Regions from separate parts of the Homo sapiens genome. Here region 1 is linked to region 2. Evidence: promoter capture Hi-C in human tissues and cell types (Jung and others, 2019). All regions are on one chromosome and are shown on one strand. Each heading gives the region's core, a stretch centred on a gene start or on the middle of the fragment in contact. The rest is flanking DNA. Distances are from core to core; before and after follow the strand shown.

Region 1 (2,741 bases), core at 181-2,680, 400 kb before region 2:
TTTTCAGCCATCTGTGGAGAGTGCTTCCTTTTTCCATACACCCAAGTTGCTCAGAACTCCCATTTTCTTGGGGCAGACACAGGGGTTGCCTGCAGCCCCTCTCCTTGACCAAGCTCTAGGGGAAGCACTGTTGCTTCAAAGGGGAATAATGCAGTCCCTGGGGCAGAAATGAGGCTGATCATGACTTCTCTCTCTCCTCTAGGCGCTGCAGGCAGGGGCAACAGGCAGGTCCCTCTTTATTCTTAATCAACAACAGGAAATAGAAAGCCAGCATAATTCTGGATAAAAACAGCCCATAATTTTATAGGACTATGTGGTTTTCTTGTCGCAATGTGCATAATTTATCTTGTGACCACAATGTAACTCACTGAATCACCTCTGTTTGTTAATTCCATCTTTTTCCTCCCAAGATAGAAAGGGGGAAAAAAATCTCTAGTTGTATGGTATTGGTCAAGAGATCTAAAAGATCATAAAGTGTAATACGACCAAGGAACTCCCAGAACTTTGGGCAACTCATTCAGTTGTTTTGAAGATTTTTTAAAATTGGGATACATTGTATGTACAGACAAGTCCACAAATCAAAGTGTAGAGCTAGATGAATATTGACATAGTGAACACCATTGTTCAGCACCACCCAGATCAAGAAACAGAATGTCACCAGTTCAATTGTTTTTTAAATAAATGCAAATGCAGATGGCAATCCTCCTGTCTGAGACCTCCCAGTCCTGTAGGAAACAGTGTTTTGATCTTCATCCAAAGAGCAACAGCCGTTGAGGTCTTTTCAGTCAAGGGACTGACAATATCACATTTGTGTTTTAGAACAATCCGTCTGCGTGGTATGGAGAATGGCTAGGAGAGAATTCATATGGGCAGAAAAGGTACTCAGCAAAGAATGAAAATAGTTGGTTCTAGGGTACAACAATGGCATAAGCTTAGAAGACAGACCTTTGGAAAGTGACAGAACAGATTAAAACAAGACTCCCAAAGCCACAGGCTACCCTGTGCCTGGCAAGCAGGCTCCCACATGTGCCCTCAAGCCAAGATTCCCAGGGAAGAAGTCACATTCAGAGCTCAGGGCAAACTAACCCATAGCTAGTGGGCTACACCTTTAACTTGTTGCAGCTGGATTGCGGTACCTCTCCCTTAACCACAGGATTCTTTCTGACTTGAAGGTTGTTTGGCAGAAGTAACCAGTAGAGTAATTGTGTTCATGCTGATGCTATTTCAATTTATCCTAAGTGCTATGGGTTGAACTGTGTCCCCCAACAATCCATGTGGTGAATATGGCCTTACTGGAAAATAGGGTCATGGCAGATGTAATGAGTTAAGATGAAGTATTACTGGAATAGGGTGCACCCCTAGCCTAATATGACTGGTGTCCTTATAAAATGGGGCAATTTGGACAGACATGCATAGAGGGGGAGCACCATGTGAAAATGAAGGTAGCAATCAGAGTGATGACTTTATAAGCCAAAGACCATCAAAGGTTGCCAACAAACCACCAGTAGCTAGGAGAGGGCCATGAAACGTGTTTTTCCTCATAGCTCTCAGAAGGAACCAGCCCTGCCAACACCTTGATCTCAGACTTCTATCTTGCAGAAATGGGAGACAATCCATTTCTGTTGTGCAAGCCACCCAGTTTGTGGCACTTTGTTACAACAGCCTGATTAGCAAGCTAACACAAATAGATTCTCACGCTAGCCCCAAACCTCAGTAGGTTGGCAATGGAGGAATGGGAAGGGCAGGGTGACATGACCATTCTCAGTGGCCTCATGTGCCCACTGACCACCCAAGTGTTGGGGCAGTGGTGGGGACTTGGAAGCCTGCAGAGCCCTCCAATAGCTGCTGCCAACTGTCTTTCTGGGAGACAAAGCAGCCTCAAGCTAGTCCTTGTGGGTCTGCTTGAGGGCACTGCTACATTCAGTTTTAGGGTATAAACCCACACCTGCCACTTAGGGACAGCTGTTGCAGGAGGTGCTGCAGAGGAAACCACTCACTCAGACATATTTCAAATGCCCACTCTTGCTATCCACTATCCATTGAATTCAAGTGCGTCAAATGTTTAAACCATGTGCCCTGGCTGCCCATCCAAACATCTAACTCAACATTCCTAGCTACTGCATCATCTTAGAACAAACTCAACTCATTTCATTTGAATATTCATATGAATCCCTTCAATACAGACATCATACAAGTCCTTTAAAACAAACTGTTTATAGCTAGTAGCCATCTCCTGACCTCAGCTGTCCCCCTCCAGGGAAAGCTTACAAAGTTTCTAGTTGGGAACAGAAGGCCCTTTGGGACTTGCCCAATGTTGTCTCAGGACATGACCTCACAACAGTAAAAACAAGTCAAAACCCAAGGCCTACTGGCAGAGAATCAGTTAAAGGACAAGCATAACTAAGTCAGCAGAGGTTACCTGGGCCTCACCCCAGCCTACATGGAAAGCACTTACCTGGTAAGCGCTCCGTAAATGGTAGCCCATAGCAATAATCATCTGTCAGTGGCTGTATTGATCTATCTGTGAATCAGATCATATCTGGAGAAGATAACCTTGAAGGGAAAGACACCATAAGAAGCCCAGTTAACTGAATGCCTTTCTTGAACTTGGCCACAGTGACCTCTACGATCAGCCGCTGCTTCTCTCCACCTTCATCTCCCCCATTTCCACCTCACTCTCAGACTTTATGTCCCAACTATACTCACAGTGACTATCTGGGATACTTTTGAAACTAAGGACA
Region 2 (3,036 bases), core at 518-3,017:
CAAAGTTAACATTTCCTTAAACCCAGCTCTCCATATATATTACTGAACTTCTGCCTGGGTCATTTAAAAAGCCTTTCAAGGCAGCCCGCCCAGCCCCCAGAGCGGCCTGGCTGAATTTCTCTGTAAAGCTCCCTCCTAGATTTTATCCCTTGGTGTTGGCAAGAAGGTCTCCTTACTCCACAGGCCTTGCTATTGTGCAACTGATTTAAGGATGGTCCAGGCCTAACTGCATCGGATTGGTTGTAGTACAGCTCCTGAGCCCTGCCCACAGGAACAAGGCTAGCAATCCTCTAGACCGCAGGAGCTGCGAAGTCCCCACCCTCTAGCAAGAGGCCACCCCAGCACCAAAAGAAGACAAAGTTCTGAAGTTAAAAAGGAGGCCCCGTTCCCTTCAATAAGGCTCCTCAAAATCGCTTTCCAGGCTCCTCCCTCTGGAGGACAGCCCAGTTAGGGCACAGACAACCTTTGAGCTCTCTTCCCGTGACCAAGCTTCACCTCTACCCCAGTATTACTTATTTGTAAACAGTTCCTGGTCATGCTTTGAAAAGCAATGCCAGGGAACCACCCTCTCTCTGGATTGCCTCTCTCTAGCCCCTTCCACAGGATCAAGCAACCACCCCACCCAACTGGGGTGTCCTTGACAAAGGTCCTTCAATCCATTTCCAAAGGCGTCGCTGCCGAAAGACACCCTACCTTAAGGCTGTCAGCACCCTACCACCCCCACCTACTTTCCCTTGGCTATTACTTGAGCTTTATTTTATCACGCTCTCCTCCCGGCCTGGGGACTCCCCTCACCCGTGGGGCCTCGTCCAGCAAAGTAAACAATGCTGTCAAAGCGGGATAACGCTGGGCGAGGCTTCCAGACTCCGCATTCCAGCCTCCTCCCGGTGTTCTAAAAGCAGCAAAAACAAGCCATCGCAGGATGCCAGGGCCGAATTCCTCTCCCAAAGTTCTTTTTTAAAAAGCCCCGGAGCCAGCTCCAAAATCAAGCATTAATTTGCACAATCTACGACAGGCAATGCAGACTGTAATGCAAGGCCAAGTGGAGCCAAATCCGCCCGGGAAGGAGGCAGAGAGGAGAGAGAGAACTGGGTCGAATGCGTAAGCCTGCCACGAAGCGGAAACAAGAGCTCTTTTTCGCGACAGGACAGCCACATTCCCGAGTGGGGCGCGCGCCGACTCGAGCTGCGGGCAAGAGCGAACACGAAGTAAAGGGTCCCGAACGCTCGGGCGGGCCCAAGGGCAGCGTCCCCGGGGCTTCGGTGGAGCTGGGGGCGGGGGCGAAGCGGCCGGGCACCGAGGCGCCGAGGAGTTAGAGGACCGCGGCGGGACACCGGGCGCGGCGGACGGCTGGCCGGCGCTCACCTCCCGGTGTGGTGGAGAAGAGCGTCCCCCCGGGCGTGGTGCAATAGTCATGAGGTAGCTGCGCGGCGTCGCTGATGGCCACGGTGCGGGTGGGGATGGCGCGGCTCTGGCTGGGCTGGTGGCCGCTGCCGGCTGACGAGGACATGGCTGTGGGCGCGGGCTCTCGGCTTTGTCCGGCGGGCAGGCGGCGGCGGCGGGGCCGGGGCTGCTTCGGCTCCTCAGGCGGACGGAAAAGCGCGCTCTGCGCGCTCCTCGCTCGCTTCCTCCCGTTCCCTCGTCCCGCTCCGCTCCCGCCGCCGCCCTCTCAGCCGCCGCCGCCGCCGCCGCTCGATCCTCCGGCCTCAGCCAGCAGCCTCAGGAGCAACAGCAGCGGCAGCAGCGGCGACGACGACGACCGGAAGCGGGCGAAGGCGGGAGCCAGAGGGAGTTGGGGAAGCTGGTCGGCCGGAGGTGACGTCGCCGCGGGGCGGGGCGAGGCAGTGAGGGGCGTGGCTGAAGTTGTTGAAGGGGGCGGGGACGAGGGGCAGGGCTGAGGAAGAGAGTGGCTTAACCCCAGCGAGCGGGAGAAGAGCCAGAGGGAGCGCGAGCTAAGTGTTTGTGAGCCTGGTGAAGGCGGACAAGGAAAACTTTCTTCTTATTGTTTGTCATTGTCGGTTAACACCACTTTACTTGAGCAGACTTGAGTTTCTCATGCATTCCTATGCATTAAAAATGTAATTTTACTTTTAATTGTTCATTATTAATTCAGGCACTACATGCACGATGTACTGTATTTTAAAAATCAAACAGAGCAGAAAGGTTTATGGTGCCACTTTCTCCCAGTTTCCGAACTCCCCTCAACCGCTGTACCAGTTAATTGTGTATCCTTCCAAAGACCATCACTATATACACACATAAAGCAAGATCTAAACATTAGGAAAAGGAAGAAACCAAGAGCCACTCATGGCAACAAGAATGAGTATTATTGTATTAGAGTTAAAATGAGGCACAGGAGAGGGCTTAGACCATGAGGTACCTGAAAAATCTAGATCTGGAACTCTATTCTTTCCTCGAGGGGTTCTCAAACTTTGGGTCTCAGTACCTCTACATTCTTGAAAATTATTGAGGATTTCCAAGAGCTTTTGTTTGTGTGGATTATATGTATTGATAATTATTGTATTAGAAATTAAAACTGAGCCGCTGCTGATCACTAGTGGGATTGTACCTGTGAATAGCCACTGCATTCCGGCCTGGGCAACAGAGTGAGGCCCTGTCTCTAAAAAACAACAACAACAACAACAACAAAAAACAAATTAAAACTGAGAATGTTTTAAATGTTTATTAATTCATAAAATAATAACCTATTACATGTTGACATTATATTTTTTAATTATCTAAAACAAATAGTGAGAACAGTGGCATTATTTTATATTTTTGCAAACGCTTTAATATCTGGCTTAATAGAAAACAGCTGTATTCTCATATCTGTTTCTGTGTTCAAGCTGTTGTAATGTGTTGATTCAACTATATGAAGAAAACCCAGCCTCACACAGGTATGTAGTTAGAAAAGAAGGTTGTCTCAGATCCCCGAGGGGCTCTCCAGATCACACTTTGAGAACCGCTGCACTAGGGCAGCACTACTTCTGCCCACAACATGCCCAAGGTGGGACTGGGAAGACACTCATGGGTAAG

Evidence for each region. Contacts are between HindIII fragments. The study calls those that stand out against the background at their distance.
Region 1: a contact is called between a fragment that was not itself captured here and the fragment with the promoter of EIF4EBP2 in region 2, in 1 of the 25 tissues and cell types used here (heart left ventricle).

The regions. Positions count from the first base shown.
Region 1 is chr10:70,805,366-70,808,106 of GRCh38, reverse strand. No RefSeq gene overlaps it. Among named protein-coding and RNA genes, the nearest start is that of SGPL1, 9.2 kb to the left of the region's middle. The HindIII fragment of the contact is 4,615 bases long and covers 1-2,741 here.
Region 2 is chr10:70,402,876-70,405,911 of GRCh38, reverse strand. It overlaps EIF4EBP2 (eukaryotic translation initiation factor 4E binding protein 2), which reads right to left and starts at 1,767. Exons shown (of 3, transcript NM_004096.5): 1 at 1,366-1,767. The coding sequence starts at 1,510. RefSeq lists silencers at 1,466-1,675, 1,706-1,895. The HindIII fragment of the contact is 23,735 bases long and covers 1-3,036 here.